Regions from separate parts of the Homo sapiens genome. Here regions 1, 2 and 4 are each linked to region 3. The links are contacts of gene promoters, found by promoter capture Hi-C in blood cells and fetal thymus (Javierre and others, 2016). All regions are on one chromosome and are shown on one strand. The core of a region is centred on a gene start or on the middle of the fragment in contact, and the rest is flanking DNA. Distances in the headings are between cores, read along the strand shown.

Region 1 (7,175 bases), core at 1,955-4,454, 4.4 Mb after region 3:
TTATGCACTACTCTTCAGGAATTGTTTTGCTTTTTCCTAAATACGATCATTTAATTTTTAAATAAAAACATTTTAAAATAAATTCTAATGCAGCAGCTGCCGTTTTGGTAGCGAGACTGTCACACAGAGAGCCGGTGTTAAAAGATCAGATTAAGAGCCTTCAGTCCTGGCACAGTGATGCTCACAGCCATGCAAGAGTGATTTTCCATGCCTCTGAAGAGACAGGAAACAGAATTCATCTTCCTCTACTAACCTGCTCCTCCCCTCCCTCCAGATTATGGTCCATCTGGCTTCAGGGCAGAAGCAAGGAGTCCAATGCTCACAGAATGCACAGAAGAAGAAACAAGGTGGACGATGTTCAGATAAAAAACATCAGAGATGCCCTGATTTGAAGGAAACAAACATGTTTGTGTCTCACACAATAAAAGATACACACATACCTTAGGAAACTAGAAAAAGATGAGTAAATTAAATCTAAAGTAAGCAAAAGAAAATATATACACAGAACTAGCATTTAGAAAACCATGGCATAGATCACGGGTGTCCAATCTTTTGGCTTCCCTGGGCCACACTGGAAGAAGAAATCACACACACATCCCATTTTATGTGGGCTACACATAAAATACACTAACGATAACTGATGAGCTTAAAAAAAATTGCAAAGAAAAATCTCATACTGTTTTAAGAAAGTTTAAAATTTGTGTTGGGCCACTTTCAAAGCTATCCTGGGCCACATGTGGCCCACAGGCCCTGGGGTTGCACAAGCTTGGCATAAATCATTATACGTGAGTCAAGGATTTCAACCAAGAAATGTCAAAGTATTTGGGAAATAAATAGTTAAGTGGTATGACAACAGTTAAGTATGACACCTTTCTTCCCAGACTAGAGCAAATGAGTTGTCAGTATCTCCCCATGGCTTTCACCTACAGGTACAACTTCCTTAGACAATTAATTTCAGTCCAGTCTTGCTCAGCACCACTACCATTATACATTCTGTTCCCACTGGGCCTGCTCACACAAACAACATAATTCATGTGGGAAAACAACTCATTGGCAAATCAGCTTCATCAACATCCCCAAGACAACCTTCTACTTCTGAACACAACCCACAGATCCTGCAGAAATGTGATGAGACCAAAGCCATACCAGCGATCATATACAGGGGTCTGTGCCTACAGAGGCCCAAAGTCTAATACCACCCCAGGGATAATTCGAACTTTTCCCTGTCACCTTAGAACATGACACCCCAGCCTGGTTACAGCTCTGTAGGTCACACATTCTTCCCATTCTCCATCTCCATAAAGCAGAGCTGCTTAAAGTAAAAAATACACACTAGTCTGGATCAGGCAGGGGGCAGTCAGGTTTCCAAAAGAAATGCAGATACACCCCTTGACTCTCATTCACCAAGCCATCTAATCTAGCCATAAGCAAATCCTAAGTAAAAACAGGCAAATGGGGACATGACTGGTGGTAGGTTTTGTGGTCACAGCTAAAGGAGGAGAAAAGACAACATACCCTTTGTTTATCAAGACCCAAAAGAGCATGTGAATTCAGAGTGTCAACAAGATTTGTGAATATGAGTGCCCCCTCCCCAGTATATACCTATGAAGGGTACCCATAGTTACTCAAGTCTAACCCAGTCCAGACCAAAGAAAAAAATCATATACAGCAATCTGCATATCTATAATACACATGCAGGCTCAAATATTGGCCACATAACATTGGCACATGCCCGCTGGCAAGCAGGTGAATGAACCTCTCTCCTGAAAAGCAGTGACACAACACACTTATAGAACAACTGAAAGGGTAGGAAGAAAAGTGCCTCTGTGCCTTCTCAGCCCACAGCACAAAGTATTGCGGCTACAAGACATGCAGATATTTCATTAGCTCCTTCCTTCTTAGAGTGGATCTTACCTGAGCAAATGAAGGCATTCAGTAATCCAGAAGCAAAAAATTATCTTTTTCCAGTATTCTCACTTCAACTTTGTAACTACCAAAAGTAAGCAGGGAGAGAAAAAAAAACCACAAGGAAGCCAACAAGCACTAGAAATGCATCGCTTTATTCCAACCTGTGCCTGTTTGCTGATGGCATGCACTTCCCCTGTAGGTGAGCAAGAGAACTAGTGAGCCGCATGCCAGGCCTTAGCAATGTGCTAAGCCTACCATCACCAAAGCCTAATTTTGAGAAAAGTGGCACTCAGAGAAACGAGTTCAATGAGTTCATCTTGCAGGTCTTTTCCCAAAAGCACAATAATATAAAGACTTAATCAGGAAACAAGAAGTAAATGTTTAAAAGTAGCTAGCCAAAAGCTTCATTAGTTTGTTTACTACAAAAAGTCTTTCCATTTGATATGTCTTCTGCCAATTCTTAATGCCCAATGACAATAGTACAGAGTAAGCTCCTGTTTTCCTGGCAATTTTTCAGTCTACCCTATTAGGTACCATTATGACAAACAAGCATAATTCTGAGCAACACGACAAAGATAGCAAAATATTTTAACGACTGAATTTTGCTTAGCCCAACTAGAAAATATTCCATTATGTAAACACATATAAATTATATCCCACAGAAAGTTACTAAGGTATACAAGTTGGAGTGAGAACACTGTTTCTTAGAAATGAAAATAAAATACAAACACCAAGAGACTGGCAAGGCCAGAGAGTCAGTTCTACAATCCCTTTTCTGCAAAACCACTAAAATGGCAACTTCTAGTCCAGTGCCTAAAATCAACTACCTTACCTCTTGGGACAGGAAAGGAATGACTTGTGCACAGATAGCATTCAGCCTCTTGACAATCTCTGCCTGCAAAAAATAAGGGAAAGGAAAGCAATAAAGAGAACAGTCAGCTGGTTACAGATTCCCCAAATATTAACAGGATGATATTAAAACATACTTTATAATTTGGCTGGCATATTTCCTAAGGAAGAGGAAAACTATCTCATCAGTAAGCCCATTAAAAGGAAGCAGTGACAACAGTGCCACATTAACAGCACAATTTATTAACCAGCATTCATCTTAAAAAGTTAACCTTCAAGCATCAGGGCAATATAAAATGGAATTTAATTTCCATGACTGGAAATCAGTTTTCAACAGCCTTCACCAGGACCCTTGCTCATACTAATGTTTTCCATAAAACCTGCAGTCTTCTAAGTCTTAAGAATTTAGATAAGTAAAGATACATTCTTTCCTACATCTCAACTCCATCAATTAGCAAATCATTGGATTTCTATATTTGTGGCCTTTGCTTTAAAAACATTGGTGCTGTGATTTTAAACTCAAGACCCTAAACTTCTGAAACAGCAGCACCCAAACAACCCAAAAAAGTTGGCTAATTCGGATTCTTACAAATTCTTGGAGAACAAAATGTTTTCTTCAACCATAAAAATTTCCAAATGTGTCCTACCAAGGTTTTCAGTGTGCAGAGGTTGAGATATGCTAAAATCTTATTACACTTAGCAGGAAGCAATCTGTATGTATCTGGAAACTATCCTTGGGAACTTTTTTTTTTTTTTTTTTTTTTTACTGTGGATATGCAAAAGTCCCAACAATGTCAAAGAACAGTCTATTCTCTAATAATTTTTATAAGTACAGACATTTTAAACCAATAAGATGCTACAGTAAGTTAAAAGAAAAACCACCACTACATGTTTTCTTTAAAAAGTTACTCACAGTTTTACCAATGTTTATCTTAATTTGTATTTTTCAGATGGTGCCTTGTATATTTTGTGATGTATAAATACACAGTTTTTTTTAATACACGTACATACAAAATAGTTTATATTTTAATGATGGAATGGAGGAAAGAGAGCTAAGAAGAATTGAAAGGCAGAAAATGTAAAGCAATTACTATCCCTAAGACATTCTTAAATTCCATCCAGGGTCAGTTCCTCATTTTATGTGAGGCCCAAAATGCCTTTTCTTGCCAAGTCATTACCAGAATGACAGTGACACTCTACTTGTGCAATCTAGGCTTCCTTCTTTCATCAGCAACCCTTCTAACTGTGTAGCTATGCAATCTTTTAAATGCCAGCACCTTAAAAACTTTACCAGCCAAAAGAAAACACAAATTCACCATGAAGTTTCAAATCCAAGCTTTCCATTCCAGCCTGCATTCCTAACAGTATGGACAAAAACCCAGCACCAATAAGCTGCAGTGAATAAGGACCCAACTGTGCTGACCTGATTTAATTTACTGCACTGGCCCCATGGAGCATTTAGCCATCCTTTAAGAATGCTTAAGCCACCATGAAGAGCTGCAATGGGAATCACCAAACCACTCTCCACCTGGACGAACATACCACAGTGGTTATGGGGTGAAATTCCAGGGTGAGCAATAAAAATAGAGTAGCATTCACCAGGCTGAAAGTACAGCATCTCAAATGCATTTGGTTGTTAAGCTTTTTGCAGGGAGAGGTGGAGGGGGAGAGAATAAAAGATAATGAGACACTTTGGGGCAGACCAAACTGATGATTCTAATGCTTAGAACCATCTGCCAAGCATATTTTCGTCATTATGTTGTTTACATAAATAAAATAGTCCCTTGCTAGGAGGGCTGAAAAATGTGTGGGCACATAAGAAAACTGAGTTCTTTAGTTCGCCTACATAATCTAGGCAATAAAAACGACTCTAAGGAAACTTATTCATCTGGTGAAATAAAATTTTGGACCTAGGCTGTATTAAGTCTGAGCAACTATTTTTTAAAAAAATTCTACATTTTCTTAAAAATAAATGTAAAAAGGAGAAGAGCCTTTTTATTCAATCACATAGGTTAACACACACACAACAGAAACGGGAGGGCAGAAACCTTCCAAACTTCCGTTAAAGATCTCCTTTTGTTTAAAAGACTTCTTAATTTCTTTAAGTTGTCATGCCAATGGATTTTCATGGTCAGGCTAATTGGCAGTGGGGGGGTGGGGTGTGTGTGTGATTTCATAAAATTAAGCAGGTCATTCTTCACTTTGAAATCTAAAGTTGCCTCGGAAACACTGCTGCTCCCATGGTCATCTAATTTCGCCTCTTTTGTCCCACAGGACCCAGCTTTAGGGAGGCATCATTTATTTACAGGCCTTTCCACTGGGCTTTAGCGATCAGCCAATAACACTGTGGACACACACTTCTAATGGCCTATGTTTTGAAACTGAGTCTAATATAATGGCGTGGGGCCCAAACTCCTTTTCCAGCACAGCCATTAAAGGATGTAGGTTATTGCTGTTGTCACCATTGATATTTGTCATTGTAATGTAATTAGGGCCCTAAAATGATGCATTACAGCCCTTGGCACAGCTTCTATTAAAATCTTTTCTTCTGCTCACTGAACTGCGACCTGCTTTCTGATGAATAACAGACAGACAGCTTTAGGGTAAGGAGCAGATTCATCAAAGAAGTATTTTTCAGCTTTGGGGAAAGAAGGAAAAAAAGGCAACCTAGGAGGAAAAGCAATAGGGGAGGAAAAGCCACAACACACATTTGAATTTCATCTGACCACTTGAAATTCTGATTGCATCTGATGAATCTTGCTTAGACAATATATTCCCAGTCTTTGAATCACATGGTTAATCAGGGCTCTAATCTGCTATCCATCAGGCTACGCCAGTACTGTTAGCTTCCAATCAAATTTATAGGTGATGTGGGTCATGCATCCCTGAGCAAGTACATTCACAGATAGCCCATTTAAACAGGCAGGGATTCTGAAATATTGCTGTTAGGGTTACTAGATATTATAATGGTATTTGATGCTTTATGGACACTGCTAAACTATTGCCTTCAGATGCTCATGATATTCTAAAATAGCATTAACAGCCCCAATAAAAGGACAATTGTTCATGTCAAAATGTAACAAAAAGATCATACTGACAGCCACACTTTGTCAAACACATTAACAATTTTTGACAATTCCATTCTATCTTCCCTATCAAGATGCTCATTTAAAAAACAATAAAAGTTGCAGATGTATTTTCCTACCCTCAACTCACTACCATTCTATTTCCTCTCTCTCAAAATTACCCACCTTTACACCATTCTCCAACAAAAAAATAAATAAAATAAAAATGATCACCATCCCTGCTAAAGAAAACCTTGGTTTGGATAAAATATCTCAGAAAAATGTAAAGACAAAAAAGGCATTCTACGAAAATCCCTTGGCTACGCACTCAACACATGACATGTGACTGTCAACAGGCTAACTCTACAGTACTGATGGACAGTGGCCTAGGAGCATGACCAGGTAGTAACGAAACAGGAAAACACAGAAAAGAATCTTTTATCCTTTATTTCTTCATACTCCAAAACTCAAGAATCATTGGAAAATTTATCATCTATCTTACATCATGGGAAAGTGATGTCATGTGTTGAAAAGAAAGCTGTAACTCAATCACTAGGTTAAAAAGTAACAAATACTAACGCACACAATACCAAATACATATTTCCTTTATCACATAACAAATTTTACTAATCATTTAAAAGACAAAAACTTAGTTAACCCTATACCTGAATTTAACTACATTCCCTGAAATAGACCTGATACAATAAAAATCTGATTTTTATTTAGATCATTTCAGCCTATATGATTTCCTTAAAAAGACATAAATTTTATTTTAAAAACATAATAAACTTGGGTGAAAGTACCAATAGCTTTATTTTAGTAATCAAACGGATATATCAAAAGCAATTGTTGATTTTAAAAACTGTTTGATGGGTTTGTCTCTCATCAAAATAGGAACAACATTACTACATATGTATTGTTGAAATAAAACAGAATAACAAAGCGTTATTAGGAAACCATTTCAGCAGCTAACTTAAAGCAATTACAGTTTTAGGAAACATTCCTGAAGAATAACTTTTTACCATTCGTTTTCTGTACAGCAGTTTCTTGCCAAAATTTTTTTAAAGATGAATCTATTTATTTTATTGAATGTTTATCAAGAACATACATTCATCCACTTTAATATCAACATTTTTTAAAAAGGTGACAAAGAAGTCCTACTTACCCTGCCTGAAATACTTTTTGGAATAAACACAAATAAATCTTGCAACCTTATCACTTCACTTCACCACTAGAGAACAAAGACTGCAATTCTTTAAAATTTCAATCAGAAAATATCTTGATTTGTTCCAAATTTTCTAAAGAAACTGTACAACTTCTGAAACTGATCTTGCCTGACCCTAGATTAAAAAG
Region 2 (6,594 bases), core at 1,927-4,426, 4.4 Mb after region 3:
AAACAAGTGTTTTGTCTTCCCCTAGCTCACCCAAAAAATGTTCAAGCAAACAAGCAGCTACAGAACTGCTATTGTTTTTTCACTAGCCACTTTAGGTTGACTATATTTTGGGGGGGTTAACCAAGCTAGCCAGAGGTAAAACCACATTTCCAAACAGTTCTCTGTCCCCCGCAAAATCAAAAGCCTTTAAAACAGCCACCCACATTCATAGCGCAGCATAGTGAAATTTGTTGGGGGAAAAGAAGTCCAAGTAAAACAGGTTCACTGATCAGCGCCCACACATTCAAAAATAAAAACGAACCCATATTGTGGACTCAGGTTACTTACAAAACTCAAGGTTCCATTTTGTGTATTACAGTGTGATCAGGACATGACAAAGACAAATATAATGTACTTTGCCCTAAAGAGAAAGAGCAGAAGGGCTACTTTGCAATAAGATCTGCCCTAATGCCTCAGTTGGGTAGAATCAGGCCAGAAACGTCACGTTGAATTCTCAGGCAGCCCGGTCTATCATATACATCTTGGTACCAACCAGACTGGTGTCTCAGGAGAATGGTTAAAATGACTGAGAATGCCCAGCATGGACAAAGGAAGGCTAATAAAGGGCAACACTTCTGAAAAACCTAGACAAGGAGTAAGACTAATTCTAGTGACTTCGATGGGGGACAGGACTAATGGGTCTCACATAAAGAAATTTCTGCCAATCCAATACCTCCACTGAAAATGTCTTCTGCCTTGCGCAGTAGTAGCACCACAAAGATCTGGATGTTTTCAGTGGAAATCAAGCTGATTTCCAGTGAGAAGCTGAACTTAAGTGTGAAAAGTCCCTCCCACCGAGAAGGTTTATCACGGTCCCTTCTTTAGGAAAAGGAAGATTACAAAGGATCATGTAATATCTCTATTCAGAACTTAACTACCACCAACCCCACTCTGCTTATCATCATGGGAAAGGGAGGAAAAAACCTGAAAAGGTTAAGTACGTTTAAAGGATTCTCTCAAATTGACTTAACTAGAGAAGCCAGACAATGCTCATACTTGGCCTTTCTCTACTCAAAGAGGTCATTATGCCCCAAACCTATAACTCTCCGGGCCATAAAAAGGCAACAGAATTTAATAGTATTTTCTTCTCTCTGGAGCAGAGTTTCTGAGTGTTGGCACTACTGAAATTCTAGGCCAGCTAAGTCTTTGTTGTAGAGGGCTGTCCTGTACATGCAGATGTTCAGCAGCATCCCAGACTCTACCCACTACATGCCAGTAGCAACTCCAAGTTGTGACAACCCCAAATATCATCACATTGCCAGACATCCTCTGAGGAAAGGAACTGCTCCAGTTTGCAACCACTGCTCTAGCACAGTACCTCCCTAATTCTTTTGTTTGGGTTCCAGTTTCCTCATTGAACCAGTAAGGGCTATGGATTCTGCCCCCACAAAAAAGGTACACAATTATGCATATAAATTCCAGAACTATATAGAACCTTTCAAACCCAGCCAAGAACCTCCATCTCTCCTCCACCCCAGGCAGGCACTCAAAAGTTTACAGTTCCCTGAACATTCCCATGTGACACGTGGTTATAAAAGAAGGTGCCATGCCTGTTTTAGAAATCTCACAGTCAGAGGTACAAAAATATCTAGAGGCCTGTGGTTATCCAGCCACGGACAAACAGTAGAATCTGTGATAAAAGATGAACCAATGAATGAGTCCACTAATCTAGTGTGTTAATTTGCAAAACAAAATACCCAAATGATACCAGCTATTATTTTTAACATTTAAGCTCACTGTGTACAGAACACAGAAGCAGACGATTTGTTTTTTCATTTAGAAAACAAGGATAGGCCGGGCGCGGTGGCTCACACCTGTAATCCCAGCATTTTGGGAGGCCGAGGTGGGTGGGATCACGAGGCCAAGAGATCAAGCCCATCCTGGCCAACATGGTGAAACCCCGTCTCTACTAAAAATACAAAAAAGTTAGCTGCGAGTGGTGGTGTGGGCCTGTAATCCCAGCTACTCAGGAGGCTCAGGCAGGAGAATCACTTGAACCCAGGAGGCGGAGATCACAATGAGCCGAGATCACGCCACCGCACTCCAGCCTGGCAACAGGGCGAGACTCTATCTCAAAACACACACACACACACACACACACACACGCAAGGATAAACAAAGAAGTTTACCATAGTCACTTATGAGACATTTATTGCCAGTGGTTCAAAACCAGAATGTAGGTTCTCAAGCCAGAATGCCTGGCCTTGACACCCCTACTCTGTAACCTACCAGCTATATATAACCCTGGGCAAATTTCTCAGCTTCTCTTTACCTTAGTTTCCTCATACACAATAAGGATAATCAGATCCCTTCCTCAAAAGATTACAAATTAAACAAATTAATACATCTGAAGCATTTAGTGCTTTACCTGGTATCCAGTGGGCACTCGATAAATTTTAACTGCTCTTATTATCACTAACACTTGCCCAAGATATACATATGAAAAATCTGTTAACTATATGTACTTACTGATGTGCTCTTAGCCTATAGAAGGACCAGGAAGATGCAGCTACAACTGCAAAAAAAGCAACACAGCAGATGGTTCTAGGTTGTGAAACACTGGCAATATTAGGATTGTTTTAGCTGTCCACACAATAGCCTAACATTGCTCAAAGTGAGATTCTACAAAAATACAAACACAAAAACAAAAAAAAACCTGGCTGTATTTCCTCTTATAAAAATTATCTTAAAACTTAACTTACTAAAATGGCATGCCTATAGTACCGAGCAATGGAAGTAGGGATGAATTTTATTTTTAAGCTGGTCATTTAAACATCATATGATGTTAAGAGTTGAAAGATATCTTAGAAATAAATCATCTGGCAAAGTATGAATCCAATTCTAAATTTTAAAAATGCCAATCAGCAGCTCAAGGACCTGTAGCAGACTGAGATAAGAACTCCCACTCTCTGATTGCCTATCTAGGCCTTTTTTGCTCAGCATAAAGCCAGGCCCTCCCTAAGCACTCAGAAACGAAGACAGCTTATATAAAGGTGGCTGATACTCAGAATATGTGATGCTACATGAAATGCAATAAAATGAAAAAATTAAACCACTCCTTTAGCTGTTCCATCATTCATTCATTCATTTCTTCTACTATATTCCAGGCATTGTTTTAGGTGCTAGTGGTACCAGCAGTGAACAAAACATATTCTTCTGTAAACAAAAATATAGTCAGAATGAATAAGGTATAGTGTTTGATAGCATAACAGAGTGACTACAGTCAACAATAATTTATTGTACATTTAAAAGTAACTAAAAGAGTATAACTAGAAAGTTTCTAACCCACACAAAAAAAGGGAAATGCTTGAGTTGATGGGTAGTCCATTTACCCGAATGTGATTATTATATGCTATATGCCGGTATCAAAATAGTTCATTTACCCCATAAATACATACACCTACTATGTACTCTTAAAAATTAAAAATAAAAAAATTTTTTAAAACCAAAACCACATTCTTCCTTTTTGGAACTACACTTTAATGAAGGAACTTGATCTCTACTGTGTCTTTGATTTATAAACTCCAAAAGGCCAAGATTAAACATTTCTCCCTTCTTCTACTTATGATTAAGTCATTTATTTACAATGAATTTATCTTCCCTAAGGAAAGGGTCCTTGATGGGACAAAGCAAGAAAGTCCTGAGGACTTGAGATGTCAAGCTCACTGTAAGCCACAGTTTACAGACACGCTTTACCTCAAGCTAGAGAAACTGACACCTACCTTAGATTCTAGAAGAGTAACCCCCGGAGCTAATTACACAACAGGTAATAAACTGCTACATAGTCCCTTTGCACATCTTTGGAAGAAAATTATTGGATCACTTTATAATTCATACAATTTCAGAAGTCACACAATTTTCTTTTCTTTTTTTTTTTTTGTGACAGAGTCTTGCTCTGACGTCAGGCTGGAGTGCAGTGGCGCGATCTTGGCTCACCGCAACTTCTGACTCCCTGGTTCAAGTGATTCTCCTGCCTCAGCCCCCCGAGTAGCTGGGATTACAGTCATGCGCCACCACGCCCAGTTAATTTTTAGTAGAGACAGCGTTTCACCACATTGGCCAGGACAGTCTCGATCTCCTGACCTCATGATCCACCCACCTCAGCCTCCCAAAGTGCTGGGATTACAGGCGTAAGCCACGTGCCCAGCCTAAGTTTTCTAATATATGCCAAAGGAAAAGTACAAAAACTAATCACTTTAAAGACATACTGATATATTTTATGTTATATATACTTTTATATTACATGTTTTATGAAAATTGCTCTACTTCTGTGTCAACATTACTTTAGCCTGAACGCTGGCCATAAGAGAATCAGTGAATTGTAAACCACCTACTAATTAAGTGAAGAACTTTGTCATCTAACATCTGCGTCTCACTGTGTTCATCCACAGGACGGGGGGAATGCTTTATTATTGGGGTTTACATGAAAAAAAAGGATGAGAAAGTACCTTATAAAAAATAAAGTATTAATAGTATATAAATATACATTTCTACTCCTAGGCACATTGGGTAACTTTGGATTTTAAAAATTCTGAAAATAAGTGCTAAAAGAGACTTTCTAAGACTGAAAAAAAAAAATTCAATTTCTGTTCACTGGATCACAGCAACAAACCAAACTGAAATGGTCATTTTAACCAAAAGAGCTAAAAGAGATCTGGGCGTTCACTTACGCCCTAAGTTAAAGATGAGAAAAGCATGGCCCTTAAAGGTACGGTACTCAGCAATATCACAAAGCTGGTGACTAGCAAGGCCAGAACTAGAATCTGAGGCTCCGGAATCAGTCAAGCATTTGGGGGAAGGTAGTAAGTATGCTGATGGTGGAGTATTCCAAACATATCAACTGGAATAAGGCAGAAATATCTGTCATACCAGCGTTCTGACCTTGAGTCAAACCCAAGATCTATTTTACCGGCTAGCTGATTTCAAGCAAGCTATTTAAGCTCTCTGTGTCTCAGCCCCAACATACGTAAAATGGAAATAATACTACTACTATAATCTCATAAGATTGTTGTAAGAATAAGTGAAATATTATCGACACTATAAGCAATCTAAAATTGCTTACTGTTATGATTACTATTCTTTCAACAACGTTATACTATCTCTACTAATAAAAAAAATTAAGACATTTTCAAAATTCCTTGTCCCTTGAAAAGAACTAAAACCTTGCATTTTTTACTGATTTGCAGGGAAGTTAGCTAAACACACAATATAGTCAAGATCGATATTGCTCCACATTCATTCAAACCACAGGTACACAGACCTATTAATAGTAAAAGAATTATTCAGATAAACACTGACTAGTGATACAGTGACGTTCAAACTGAATTTTAAATTCTGTTTGGAATGATTCATGTTTTCATCTTTAAAAAGGCAGACTCAACATACTAAAATACATACATTCTACTTTAGCTATACTAACTTGTTCCTCAAAGGCACAGCAAGTTCGGTTGCTTTTGCTTCCTCTTTCCAAGTGTCACTTTTCCACAAACTAGTAGACAACACAGACCTAAGTATGCCTGAGATTCAGTATTTGTTATCTATCTTGCAACCTAATATACCCTTAAAAATATTAAATCACACATATTCTTGGCTAGCTCTAACTGCTATTCTCTCATTCACCAAATATTTTATTGCGCACCAGCATCTACTATGCGATAGGCACAGGGCTCAACACCGGGTACACAGCAGTAAACAATAAAAGCTCCTGTTTTCATGGAGCTTACAATCTAGCACGAGAGAGAGACAGGAAATAAACAGGTAAGTATCTAACACAGTGTGTTTGCATGGTACAGTTCAGGAATGCCAGATAGCCAGTTTTATCAAGCACTTTTCTAAAAGTGGACCTTGGCTTTATATTTCAATATTGCTGATCCTAGACTCCCTTTGGGCAGGGCAGAGGCAATGAGAGGGTAGAAGGGAGGGGAGGGAGGAGCTGTCCTCAAACACAAACACAGATCAGATCTCTCACTAGAGATGACGGTGTAACACTCTTGGACTGCCAGTAGCATCACCATGCTCCTCATGTTGCAGAAAGCCAAACACATCATAGAAACAAGCATGTTATTTGCTGTTTGGAAACAGCATGGTCAGCGAAGGGAGCCCTGGAAGGGAAGTCAAGAAACCTACTATTTCCTCTTCTGCCAGTGACTCTCACTATGCAACCTCAGGCGCATTCGCTGACCTGCGTGAACTCTGGTATCTCCACCCCCGTGCTGATCCTCCCTGACTGTGACACTGGGCTAGTCTCTTAAGCCCTTAAGCCTCAGTGTTATCTATTAAAGGAGGCCAGTAGAATGACACTGCTTGGCAAACTGTTGGGTACTCCACTGACAGAAGCTATTTAAATAAATACATGGATCCAAGCTTGCTACCTGCTTCACAGAACATAAGGAACATTAAAGAGAACATATAAAATGCCTTAAGCTCTCTGTAAAGAAAGGGTGTTACAGAGTACTAGTGCTTATAATTTCTACTATGACTATTCTTTCCAGTTATATTTTCTTGCAGTTTCAAATTCAATAACCAAAATCATCCACAGACCTTCAGAAACAGAAT
Region 3 (6,927 bases), core at 4,369-6,868:
GTTTCCCCGTGTTAGCCAGGATGGTCTTGATCTCCTGACCTCGTGATCCACCCGCCTCGGCCTCCCAAAGTGCTGGGATTACAGGCGTGAGCCACCGCGCCCGGCCGTATGTGCTACTGAACACCGCAAGTGGCAAAACTCCTTTCAGCCAAGAGTTGGGATGAATTCTGAAAAACACTGCTCAGTGAACCCCAACAACTAAACTGTTCCATTAAATGTGTCAGTCCTAATTAATAACTCTAAGAACCACTCTCAACTTCTGAAGCTGACATACTATGAATTTACAGTAATGTTATCATAACTGGGCAAAGAAAAAAATTCCATTGACTAAACACCCAAAAGATAACCAAGACACCTGTAAAACACAAGCAAATGTGATAAGAGATACTTAACACTGTACAAGCATTCCAATACAACTATTCTCAAATATTTTACCAAAAAGTCAAGAACTTTAGGGGAAATAAAATAACTGCTAACATACATCTGTTACACAGATTTCATCACTTAACAACAAAGTAGAAAGTAGGATTGATCTAGGATACAGATATAATTCCTACAACTGCATGTCTTAATTATAATAAAAAGATGATGTGTAATAGGTTATTTTTCCTACAGATTAGAAAGAGAAGCTTATTAAAATGTTTAATCAAATGGAAAAATATTATGTAAGATCTATATTATAAAGTTTAGACTGGATATTAATAATTGAGACCTTTAATAATTTGGTAAATTATATTAATGGCATCTAGTCCTTCAGATAATTCCTAAGGTTTTCATCCCTTCTTTGCTTAGGAAATTGGGTAACCATAGTCACAAGCAGGTAGAAGCAGCTCAGAGGCAGAGGTTAGCAAGGGCAGCACAAATTCCCATGTGCAAAGAACAGCTCCTGATCCTAAAGAACTCCACTGTCCAAGAAAATAATAATAAATTTGGAAAACTGTCTTTTAAATTATACAGTAAGATATGTTCGGGCTGGGTGCGGTGGCTCACAGCTGTAATTCCAGCACTTTGGGAGGCTGAGGCAGGTGGATCACCTGAGGTCAGGAGTTCAAGACCAGCCTGACCAACATGGAGAAGCCCGTCTCTACTAAAAATACAAAAAAATTAGCTGAGCCTGGTGGCGCATGCCTGTAATCCCAGCTACTAGGGAGGCTGAGACAGAAGAATCGTTTGAACCAAGGAGGCAGAGGTTGCAGTGAGCCGAGATTGTGCCATTGCACTACAGCCTGGGCAACAAGAACGAAACTTTGTCTCAAAAGAAAAGAAAAAAAGATGTTCAAAACTGGTAATCCCAGCACTTTGGTAGGCCAAGGCGGGTGGATCACCTGAGGTCAGGAGATCCAGACCAGCCTGACCAACATGGAGAAACCCCATCTCTACTAAAAATACAAAAAAATTAGCCGAGCTTGGTAGCACATGCCTGTAATCCCAGCTACTCGGGAGGCTGAGGCAGGAGAATCGTTTGAACCCAGGAAGCAGAGGTTGCAGTGAGCCGAGATTGCGCCACTGCACTCCAGCATAGGCAACAAGAACGAAACTCAGTCTCAAAAAAAAAAAAAAGGTATGTTCATACCATATTATCCACTTCTTTTACTTTCCAGAATTAAGGACATAATCATAAATAAGGACAAAGAAAAGCCATATATTTAAGGAGATAATATCCCCGGTACTGTGATTTGATCTTTACAAATTAAGTGAATATATTAAATTATCACATATACCCCAAAACTATGTACATCTTTTATGCATCAATAAGTAACAAAATAAATAAAGACAAAGATTTATGTGGCAGAGAGTTTACCACTGAGTTTTTATATTTTGAAAAAAACAAAATGTTCAAAATGGGAAAAAAAGTTAAATACATAGCACTACCACCATGAAATGAAAAGCTATGAAATCTTTAAAGAAACCATTTTTAAGAATTATTTAATGACAAAGAAATACATTCACATTTTGTTGGGAAAAAGAACACATATAAAATTACATACAGCTTAATCCCCATTAATTTTATAATCAGGAAAAAACATTTTTAAGAAAGCTGATTAGCATTGTATGAATGATAAACTTGGCTGACCACACTAATCTGCATTCTAGATCTGTACTGCCAGGAACTGAACAAAAGAAAATAAAGTGGGAAAATTTTATCACCTACCACGAAGGTCTAGGCATATTTGATTTACAGATTAATTTTCAGTCAGCCTCATATATTCCAATTTTTTTTTAATAAAAAGCGAGGCAGGAGTGTCATCCTTTTGGACCTTACGTGTGTCATTCTGACAATAGCTGAGACTTAAAAGCACTAACGAATATTTAAATCTACTCCACAGTTCCATTATCTTCATCTAAACAATAAAGGTAAGTCTACATTTTAATTCATTGAGGATGAGTTCAAGGTAATCCTGGAATTTTTGAGAAGATACTCCGAAAATTAGGGAGGAAAAATTTATACCGTATATGACTGAAATTAGAAGAAGTAATCAGAGGAGATTTTTATGGATCCTCCATAACCTAAAGTAAGGAAAAGACAGAAAGAGAATCTGGAACCCCATTTTGCTATGTGACCTTGGATATGTTCCTTAGCTTCTCTTAGTGCTAGTTCATTCGTTCACAAAACAAAGATAACTAACAACTTGCTCAAAGAACTCTAAAAAGTATTAAACTGCCAGCACAACGTTTAGCACACAGTGGGGAACTCAGGAAATAGTAGTTATAAATACTATTTTAAACAATAATGCAGCTGGATAGTGTACATTCTCAATTATATTAGCCCATCTAAAGTAAATCCCCCATCTAAGTAATATTGGGTCTAAATTCACTGAGTCCAAAGTGATCACTACACCATTACACCATTGTACCAATTACACAAGACTGGAGTCAATGAATGTATTGTTAAGTTCTTGAATGAACACAGGTATAAAATTATTGGGTTGAAAAGTCTTAATTTCAAACAGAGAATAAAAGGATGGAGAAAAAAGACTTTCCTGTTATTTAAAGAGCAAACCTAAAAATTAAAAAGACGTAAAGAAGAAATCAAATGGGGGGAAAAATAGCAACCATCCCACAATGGCATCTAGAGGGGATGAATAATTTACACCAGTCGGGGTCCAGTCTGGACAATGAAACTGGGAGGAAGAGGTTTTTTTTTTTGTTTTTGTTTTTGTTTTTGAGACAGGGTCTCGCTCTGTCGCCCAGGCTGGAGTGCAGTGGCGCGATCTCGGCTCACTGCAAGATCAGCCTTCCGGGTTCACGCCATTCTCCTGCCTCGGCCTCCTGAGTAGCTGGGACTACAGGCTCCTGCAACCACACCCGGCTAATTTTTTTTTTTGTCTTTTTAGTAGAGACGGGGTTTCACAATGTTAGCCAGGATGGTCTCGATCTCCTGACCTTGTGGTCCGCCCGCCTCGGCCTCCCAAAGTGCTGGGATTACAGGCGTGAGCCACCGTGCCCGGCCGGAAGAGGTTCTTATATAGGGCTGCTTACTTGTGATTCCCACTCATCATTCCTTATCAAGAAAATGATGACTGCAACATAAATCCTAATTTGAAAGAAAGCACAGCATCATCATTACCGTACCGCTATTTGTGCATATTAGTGTCAGTGACATGTCTCAGGTTTTAAATGACAAACTCAATTAAATGTTGCAAATACTAACTGGCGGATTAAATCTCTATAATCCAAGTATCCTAAGCCCCTACATAAACTCATCAGTTTTGAATATTTAATAAAATTCTGAACTTTGTGTTTTAGAACTGAAATGCGAGTTAAGTTTTACCTACCCAACAAGACTATACACTCTTCATGGTGGGGACCATTTAAAAAATTATATTATCACTTAAAGAGAACTTTTATAAATTCCACAATCCCGGACATTATGTTCTAACAGCATGTGTTAACGTATCCTCCCAGAATGTAAATACTGGTGTTTGTCATGAAATCCTCAGTGCGCCCTAACAAGAGTTTTCCTCTAATCAGTCAAGTAAAAGATGCTGGGTGGATGCAATCATGGCCATTTAAAAGAATGCTGGTATATATGTTTTGCAAATTACCCAAGAAGGAAACATTATAACAGGAATGAATCAGCACAAATTCATCAACACTAAAATATATGCATGTATTCGGCCAATGGTGGATTTCGCTTTATGTGCAGATTATGACACCTTTATGCTTCAAAATGAGTTTGGGATTGTGGGCGGAGGCTGGAAGGTTGACGAGTAAGGATGTGGAAAGCGGGTACTACCAGGGCTGGAGATTTCCCAGGGCTGTCACCGATTGAAAGTGACCTTATGTGCCTTAACAAAGGAAGTCATGAAAGCTTGGCACAGGAGCCTTAAAAGTAAGGAACCGAATACAATGCAAGTGTGCGCTGAACCCGCTAGAACAGGAGCACGTTTGAGGGCAAGGGTTTTTGTCTGTTTTCATCACTGCCACAAGGCAGGCGCTTTGAATGGAACGTGGAGGTCTGCAACGTATTCAGCGATACGCATTCATTTTAGGAGACAAGGGCAATACATATTGCCTAAAAATTTTATCGGAATAAACTACAGCGACGACACTACAAAATACTTCCATCTCAGGTCCCATTACCCAAGAGGAAAGTCTCAGAACCGAGAGCCCTGTGAAACCGCCTGTGCCCTCTCGGCGAGAAGTTCTCCAGTACTCCCAGGCTCGCCCCGCGTTTCCCCGGCTCCCGCCCCGGCGCAAGGCAGGCCGAGAACCGCCAGCTGCGCCCCCGGGCCCGGCCTTGACTGACGGGCGCCCCGGACCATTACAAACAACGGGTTTCCGAAGCGTGGGCCCGGCCCAGCGGACGCAGACGGCCCGCACTTACCGCGCCGCAGCTCGTCCCACAGCCCACAGACCACAGCCCGGGGCGGGGTAAGGGGCTTCGGGCACGAGTGTGGGCTGTGAAAACACGGGCATAAGTCTGGGCCGAGCACCGACCTGGGCGTCCCGCATTTTCCTCGCGCAACATCGGTCCCTGGGCAGCGCAACTGTAAGGACAGGAACCGCCGCGGCGCGCTCCCAGTTCCTTTTTTACCTCTTCCCGCCCGATTTGCCGCGCGCTCGCGCCCCTCCTCCAACCCCAAAGGACTCCTTCGGGGCTGGAAAACGCCCCTTCCCCGCCCCCTCCCTGTGCGCGTGAACTAGGCAGTTGTTAGATCTCGCGAGAGGTTCGCCCCCTAGCCGCCCCTCCCCCCAGCTAGTGAGTGCGCGAACGAGAAAGGAGGAGGGCGCTCCAGGCGACAGCACTGCAGACGCCATTATCCTCTGTTTCTCTGCTGCACCGACCTCGACGTCTTGCCTGTGTCCCACTTGTTCGCGGCCTATAGGTAATTGGAGTTATTGGAGCTTGGGTATTGCTGATTCGGGTAAGGGTTGGGGCTCCCTGAAAGGCTGCGTTTACTTTTCCCAAGCCCGGGTTTTCTCGAGCCCTTAGTGGCCTCCCAGCCCGAAGGGAGGCGCTGGCGGGAGGCGGGGTTGTCGCCTCCTCCGTCGCCTTGATTGACGTGGCCTCGGGCCAATCGCTTCGCCCTCGCACCATCGCTGAAGCCCTGGCAGCCAATAGGGCGCGACGGCGGGGAGGACGCGAGAAGGCGGGGGAGGGGAGCCTGCGCTCGTTTTCTGTCTAGCTCCGACCGGCTGAGGCGGCGCGGCAGCGGAGGGACGGCAGTCTCGCGCGGTGAGGAGCCGGGTTGGGGGAGCGGCTCGTGGAGGTGAGGGTCGGAGCCCAGTTTTTCCGCTTGAGGGAGGCGTCCTGGGAGCCGCTTTGGTGTTTGGCCGCTTCTCCGAGTGGGAACGTTGCCCGGTGTCCCCTCCCCCACCTCCGCCATTTCCCTGAGCGTGTATCCGCAGTCCGCGTTGTGGTCCTAGAGACTTGGGGATTCGTGAGGCATGTGCCTCTAGGATGAGCTGGAGCTATGTGGCACTGGGAACTAGGGACCTCGTGGAGGAAAGGAGGCCGGTGCGGGGAGAAGGTCGCGCCGCCGCTCTCTTTGTGTGAGCCCCGCCTCACCTTGGGTCTCCCGGCCCGGGGTCGGAGCTGGAGCGGCGGGGATGGAACGGTCAGGGCTGCCTCGATGGCTTTGTCTCGGGCAGTGGGGGGAGGATGCGGGGGATGAGACCTCGGGACCGCGTGGTGGGTGGGGGAGGGGGTCGGCGCTCGGCTCCGCCTAGTAGCACGTAGTCGCCATTACGCGGGCCGCCATTTCCTGTCGGATCCGGGTGAGGAGAGGTGCGGTGCTTCTGCTGTCGACTTTCGCTTTTTCCCGTCCTGTTACCCGGCTGTTTTTGATCTCGGTGCCGGGAGGCGGGGAGGGGAGGGCGCGTTGGCGCTCGGCCAGTGGAGCACATACTTAGCGGATTTTTGAGGCCTGGGGACTAGTGACTGCAGGACCCGAAGGGTGAACGGCAAGCGGCAACGTTATTCTTACAGATAAGCCCTGCTGTTTTTGCTTAAACTTTCTTATCCAACTCTTCTCCCACCACACCTCAGAAATTGCGTGCTGGGCCGGAAGGATGTCGTTTCAGTTGTCGTTAGGAGAGCAATAAGTCGACCAACGGTATGGGAGAATGGGAGGCATAAATGTGCCTCGCTTGTTGGCTCTTTGCTGTCTAGCCAACCTTCTAGTAGAGGCCGCTTGTCAACTCCTAGTCCCGACAAGAGGGAAGCTTAAAAAGGCTGTTTGTAGTCCTATCGACCGTTTTGGCACGTAGACACTTTAGTTTTCGTGTTACAGGCATGATTGTTGTGTTGTACTCCCTTAAGCCTAATTTAAAATAATCCGCTAGTGACTGTTAGTTTTCAAGGGCTCCATTTGTTTCGCTGATTAATAATAGACTGGTATTGTGGTAGTTTGGGTCTGGTCCTATATTAGATTTTTGGATTTATCCCTCCGGTAGATTGTTCTGGTTGTTGGATGTGTTCGC
Region 4 (6,491 bases), core at 2,174-4,673, 4.4 Mb after region 3:
GGCCACTGTAGTGAGCTGGTGCAAAGGAAGGCTATGGTGGTCTTCACCTGCCTCTAATTTCATACTAAAAACCCAGAGCCAAAGTTCACAGAATGTTTCAATTCGGCAAATATTTTCGCCTCCATCCCCAAAATAAGAGGACAGAGAAGTCCTTTTGACAGTTTTCTGAACCTCTGCTGTTCCATACCTAGCCACATGTGACTGTTAAGCACTTGAAATGTGTCCAATTCAAAATGAGATGTGCTGTAAGTACACATATATGTGGCATTTTGAAAAAATTAATGTGAAAAAACTGCAGCTCAATAATTTATAATTATGTCAAAATTGTGATATTTTGAATAACTCAATTAAAAATATTAGTAAAATTAATTTTGTCTGTTTCTATTTATTTATTGTATTGATGGGGGTCTTCCTGTGTTGCCTAGGCTGGCCTCAAACTCTGAAGCTCAAGCTATCCTCCTGCCTGAGCCTCCAGTGTTGTTGGGACTGCAGGCACACACTTTTTTTTTTTTTTTTTTTTTTTTTTGAGACAGAGTTTCGCTCTTGTTGCCCAGGCTGGAGTGCAATGGCACGATCTCGGCTCACCGCAACCTCCGCCTCCTGGGTTCAAGCGATTCTCCTTCCTCAGCCTCCCGAGTAGCTAGGATTACAGGCATGCGCCACCACACCCAGCTAATTTTTTGTATTTTTAGTAGAGACGGGGTTTCTCCATGTTGGTCAGGCTGGTCTTGAACTCCTGACCTCAGGTGATCCGTCCGCCTCGGCCTCCCAAAGTGCTTGGATTACAGGCGTGAGCCACCGTGCCCAGCCTCTTTTTACTTTTTTAACTTTGTTCCTAGAAGATTTTAAATTATGAGGCTTACATATTTCCATTAGACAGCCCTGCCCTGAAACCTTCCCAAGAATCAAAAGTGAGAAGACTTTAGTGATACAATTTGCACACGAGGACAGCGAAGTTTCTAAGAACACCAGCAACAACCATGTTTTATTCTAAGGTTGGTTAGTTGCTTGCTCCCACTAGAGCTTTTCAATGGTTTGTGAAATCACCCACAGTGCCTCTGTAGGAAGTTCCATGTTCTCTATTTTAGCCAGAATGTTAGCAAGTTCCATGAGAACAGGGACCTGGTTGTGTTCACAGTTGCACTCCAAACTCCCCAAATTATGTCTGCCATCACTGTCTGGTAGTTGGTGCTCAGTAAATATTTGTTGATGGCATTAATGAATGAATACCTCATTGCATCCTTATAGGAAGTTTCCACATCATTTGGGTCATATTTATTGAAATTCTGTGCAGTTTTCTCTCAGGACAGGAAACGAGAATTCTAAGAATAGAACCCGAAGAACTATTGAAAGGGTCAGTGGACAAAGAGGAAACTTTGCTCTGTTAGGAAATATCAGATCACTTATAGCAAGGATCTTTCCCCTAATCTCTCTCGATGGTTTGTGTCAACAGGAAAGTGGCTAGAGAAGTCAAGATGTTTCTTTATTTTTTAAGTTCTGTATTAAAATATAGCCCTTGGATGTGTTTCACATTTTGGCCACGTGGCAGAGCTATGTAACTCACCTCAATGTCTCAGAAAGATGCAAATGCAGCAACTGGCGGCCCAGCCCTAGCCGTAACACAGACTGTAAGTGGGGCTCATGGCCACTTTTTCTCCTTTTCTCTGCTGTGCTTCTCTCATTGCACTTCTCGCTAACTGTTGAGCCAAGCTATGATGTTATCTGGAGGCCTGTCTTATCCCTACCACAGAGTGGGGGGTAGGTGGGGTGTTCCAGAGTTTTCATGTGGGAGGCACTTGGCAGCAACTTTCATGTTAAAAGCTAGGCCTGAAAGCTCCAATCTTGAAGTGACATATGCCAAGCATGCTTTTCACTTTGGTTAGATGTAAATCATTTATTTATTACTTCACCAAATATTTATTAAACCTACTATGTGCCAGAATATGGGGATTTCACAATAAAAGTGGCTATTATTAATATGTTGCCTCTTAGCTCCAAATTCATCCTCATTGCCTGCCTAGTGAAACTGAATCTGAGCCCTTTAAATATTTTCCAGCTGTTAAAAAAGCTAGGTCAATAGAAGGCGCTGGAGAGACATTGCAGGAGGAAAGGGTTTGGTTTCCTGGTTCCTGGCTCTGGTTGCATACTGGGCAGGTTCCTACAGCACAGGTAGCAAGCAGCAGCACCCAGCAGCCAGCAGCTTCCTCCAGAAGCCCCTTAGGTGGCTTTGGAGCAAGTGCCTCTAATGAGTCACCTCCCTCAGCAGCTTTCCTTGGAACCCCAGAGAATGGATTTCCAACGAGTTCTGGAATGTGGATTTCTAGCAAGTTCCAGAAGGCAGAATTCTAGCAGGGCTCTCCTGCTATTCAGAAAGTTACAACTGTGCCCTCTCCAGCAAAGTCTGGATCTCAGCCAGCCCTAAGAGTGTGTCTGTGTCTTGGAGGAGCTCTTTTTGAGATGCTGTATCTCAGCCCTAGGGTTAGTAAGTAGCTGTTCCTTATATCTCTATTTCTGTATTATTTAGAGCTCTCTTTACCTCTTACCAATCTCCCTTTGATCCAATTCCCTGTTATAGGTAATAATTTTTTATATTGAACTTTCCTTGTTGAAATTACTGTTTTTCTCTCTTGATCGGATCCCGATTGATACAGTAAACAACATAAGCAAAGTGTCTTTCTTGCTGGAGCTTACATTCTGATGGGGGGAGATAGACAAACAGTTGCATAATATGAAGGAGTGACAGGAGTAGTAGAACTAGTTCAGATGGGAGTTCATAGAAGCCTTCTTGGAGGAGGTGACATTTAAGCAGAAGCCTGAATGCCTAGAAAGAGTCAGCCAAAGCAAAAATCACTGAGAAGCAAATTTCAGGTGGATTCAAAAGCCTCATTTGAGGAAGTGTTGGTGAATGTGAGCATTTTTTAAAGACTGGTACATGCTAGACACAGAGTAATATAAGATTAGGTCATGGCTACATCACTGGGTTCTGGTCACATTGAACTTCTTATGCCTAATAAAAGCTTTCATTTTCTACTCTGATTATAATAGCCATTGTGGAGGGAGAAAGGCTCGTAAGCAGGGAGTGACAAGATCATTACAAATATCAACTTGGTATAAGGTGCCCACGTTCATACTTGACCTAAGATTAAGAAAGTACCCTTTGTCATATTAAAGAATTATCAATTGTTTTTAATTGGGGGCAGCTGATAAAGAGTACAGAAGCACATATGCTGCCCTTCCCACACACATCCTTTGGTACTGCCACTACCTCACCCCCACTAATGAGTGATGGGTCCATTTTAATTTGGAAAGAGGATGCCTATGCAAGTTTGAATGTCAAGCTCTGCATTGAATATATAGCTAGAACAGCAATGATCATAGAGAATCAAGGACATGCACATCCATTTCTAGATCTGCAATTGACTTGCTCAGAAACCATCCTCCCATCTATGTTAAGATAGAGAGAACTGGACAGAAAACTCATTATTGAAAAAGATTCAGGACATCAATGCTAAAGAGAGTGACAAATTTCTTAACTTGTCTGGTTAGGTAGAGGTTTGTTGCCAGCTGCCTCAATGTTTAGTGGTGAAGACTGCCAAGCTATCTTTGTGTTGGGATGTCCCTTCTTATCTTGATGGATAAAAGGAATGTAGGTACCCGTTGCCTTTTTGTGGGGAGGGAACTTGGCTTGGGAGTGCAGTGGACAAATTTGCATAGGTACTAAGGAGGCTTCTGGGACAAAATAACTGTCCTTATTGAAACGCTACATTATTTGAATGCTTTGAGATTATCCCTAATTAAGTCTGCAGGCAAGAAGGAGCACTGAAGCTTTCTCTTCCCTCCCGGAGATTATGGTGCAGACACAGTGGTGTATGTGGGAGGGGCTATCTAGAACGCAGCTGAAGTCAACAGGAGAATGGACCAGTGACCCAAATTCACTAGCTGCAATACAGAGGCAGGAAGTATGGATCTTTCTCATTCGGAAATAACTCTTTATTGAAGATACAAATCTCCTTTTGGATTAGACATCCTGGCATTAATGGGGTGCTTCGGGATAAATAGCTGAGTGTGTGAGGAAGATAAGGCTGCATAGCACTTTTATAGGCACACCTTATGTCAACAATGGAGCTGAGGGAGACCCTGACTTCTTGCTAGTCTGAACAGTTGTCTTGAATAGTTAAAAAGAGCTGTGAACTTATTTATACTCTATAACAGAGATCATATCTAAGAAATACACTACTAAAAATGACTCCCTTACTTGAGGAACGCTCACATTGTCTTTAATTTTCTAGAATCTAGAAGGGATCTTTAACAGCTGCTTCTGTTTCATTCCCCTGCCTTTAAGCAAACAAGATATTATTATCCCCACTTTAAAGATTAATCAACTGAGGCTCAGAAATAAGTCACTTGCCCAAGGTTATATGGCTTGTAAGTACTGAAGCAGAGATCAGAACTCTTGTCTCCTACCTCCTGATTTAATACCTTGCATAAACCTGAATTCCACAAATGAGTATTCAATTAAAGTATGTAATTTGAGCACTATCCAACTCACCTGCCTGGTTTACTCCTTTTCAAGCAGATGTTTTATTGCAAAAATGGGGGCAGAGGGTGAATCAGGGAGATGACTGTGTTGCAGCTGCCACTGTGCAAAGGCTGAAACTGAGAATTACCATGGCTGCAGGAAGCATGGCTCACTCCCTTCAGCCTCCGACCTCAGAGTGTCTGAAGGCTCAGTAAGGAAGTTCCAAAGAGATGCACAGTGCTGAAGCCCTAGTCCTTTTACTTTCAACTAACAGCAGGGTTCACACCTATGCAGCTGCTCTTGCCGTGCCTTTCCACAGGCTCCCACTCTTGCTAACTATCACAACAGCCTATAGGGCAGACATTACAGGAGAAAATCTGCGCATTTCCTTTCTGAAATGAGTGGTGCGGGAATGGGGTAGGTGTAGGAAAGTGTAAGTAAACATCTTACTGCTTTGTACAAGAAAATAATTCATAAGAGTCTAGTATTATTTTTATTTATTTATTTTTTGAGATGGGGTCTCACTCTGTTTGCTCAGGCTGGAGTCCAGTGGCGTGATCTCAGCTCACCGCAACCTCCACCTCCCTGGCTCAAGCGATTTTCCCATCTCAGCCTCCCAGATAGCTGGGACTGCAGGTGCAGGCCACCACACCTGGCTAATTTTTTGTATTTTTGGTAGAGATGAGATTTCACCATGTTGCCCATGCTGGTCTCTAACTCCTGAGCTCAAGCCATCTAACCACCTCAGCCTCCCAAAGCTCTGGTATTACAGACATGAGCCACCACGCTTGGCTGGAAAGTCTAGTATTATTTTCATTAGAACTGGGGGTCAATTCACGGTCTACCATGATCTGGCTAACTTTGGGTAACCCCTTTAACCTTTCTGGTCTCATCTATGTTGTGTTTTATCCTTAAGGGAGGTAAGTATGATCTCTAAACCCCTTTCCCCTAAATGCAAACATTTGCTGCTCTAAAAAATGTTGTATTTTATCATCTCAGAGTTGGTCATATGGAATGGATTTTGAATTAGGATCATCTGCTGAGGTTGATTATATTTTCCTTACCCCTTTTTAATACTTCTGAAAAAATTATCTCTTGCAATGAAGATTATTTGGGGGAAAGTGGCTGCAGACGCATTTGTTGAAAATTGATTAGTTGTCTCATAAAATGATCTAAACTGTAAGGAACTATATTCTTAATGCTACTATGTGGGCTCCTACTGCTATAATTCAATTCAGGACTTGTCCTCAATATTATGTAGCCCGGAACAATTCTGGTAAATCACATGACTTCCTTTAATAGCAATCCTTGTAAAATAGTGTGAGTGAGCCATCATTCACAGTGTAATATCTAGTCCAGTGCACTACTACTTTTCAAAAAGACAATGATATTCTGAGAAATTTTCATTCATGGGGACACCCTCTGCTTCTGCTCCTTGCTTTTATATAGAACAAAATTTGAATGCTTTTATTATAGGTTTTTATTAAATATGTCTGCAAGAAAGACCATTTGATACCTTATTTTTATATGAACCCCGAGTGTTTACATAGTGTTGTTACATATTATTACCTCTGGTACTATGTAAAGGTACCAGCAGAGAAGCAGAATGGGTATTATAATCCCCATTTTACAGACTAGGAAACTAGGTTCACAGAAACCAATGGCCTCTTGAAGATTATACAAGTAGTAAAGCAAACAAGTTGGGAATCAAACTTGACTTTTCAAATTCCACTTTTTTTCTATTCTACTAGAGCTGACTTTTTTTTTTTTTTTTTTTTTTTAGACAAAGTCTCCCTTTGTCACCCAGGCTGGCATGCAATGGTGGGATCTCAGCTGCAACCTCTGCCTCCCAGGTTCAAGCAATTTTCGTGTCTCAGCCACCTGAGTAGCTGGGATTACAGGCGTGACCACCAGGCCTGGCTAACTTTTATATCTTTGATAGAGACGGGGTTTTGCTATGTTGACCAGGCTG

The links. The method cuts DNA at HindIII sites, captures the fragments that hold promoters and counts their contacts. A CHiCAGO score of 5 or more calls a contact.
Region 1: a contact is called between a fragment that was not itself captured here and the fragment with the promoter of HNRNPK in region 3, in 1 of 17 cell types (activated CD4 T cells). The highest score is 5.8, in activated CD4 T cells.
Region 2: a contact is called between a fragment that was not itself captured here and the fragment with the promoter of HNRNPK in region 3, in 2 of 17 cell types (activated CD4 T cells and total CD4 T cells). The highest score is 5.8, in activated CD4 T cells.
Region 4: a contact is called between a fragment that was not itself captured here and the fragment with the promoter of HNRNPK in region 3, in 7 of 17 cell types (naive CD4 T cells, fetal thymus, naive CD8 T cells and 4 more). The highest score is 11.0, in naive CD4 T cells.

The regions. Positions count from the first base shown.
Region 1 is chr9:79,608,284-79,615,458 of GRCh38, reverse strand. It overlaps TLE4 (TLE family member 4, transcriptional corepressor), which reads right to left. Exons shown (of 20, transcript NM_007005.6): 5 at 2,741-2,803. It overlaps LOC124902329 (a long non-coding RNA gene), which reads right to left and starts at 2,734. Exons shown (of 2, transcript XR_007061903.1): 1 at 1,915-2,734; 2 at 1-383. RefSeq lists an enhancer at 3,617-6,289. The HindIII fragment of the contact is 1,783 bases long and covers 2,313-4,095 here.
Region 2 is chr9:79,583,686-79,590,279 of GRCh38, reverse strand. All of the region lies in intron 4 of TLE4 (TLE family member 4, transcriptional corepressor), which reads right to left. Among named protein-coding and RNA genes, the nearest start is that of TLE4, 15 kb to the right of the region's middle. RefSeq lists a silencer at 6,210-6,309. The HindIII fragment of the contact is 6,456 bases long and covers 1-6,404 here.
Region 3 is chr9:83,978,906-83,985,832 of GRCh38, reverse strand. It overlaps HNRNPK (heterogeneous nuclear ribonucleoprotein K), which reads left to right and starts at 5,618. Exons shown (of 17, transcript NM_031263.4): 1 at 5,618-5,680. It overlaps RMI1 (RecQ mediated genome instability 1), which reads right to left and starts at 5,028. Exons shown (of 3, transcript NM_001358291.2): 1 at 4,942-5,028. RefSeq lists silencers at 4,615-4,694, 5,505-5,644 and enhancers at 4,339-4,847, 4,905-4,994, 5,015-5,084, 5,215-5,274, 4,848-5,355 and 2 more. The HindIII fragment of the contact is 2,357 bases long and covers 4,315-6,671 here.
Region 4 is chr9:79,563,619-79,570,109 of GRCh38, reverse strand. It overlaps LNCARSR (lncRNA regulator of Akt signaling associated with HCC and RCC), which reads left to right and starts at 2,158. Exons shown (of 3, transcript NR_184113.1): 1 at 2,158-2,478. The HindIII fragment of the contact is 808 bases long and covers 3,020-3,827 here.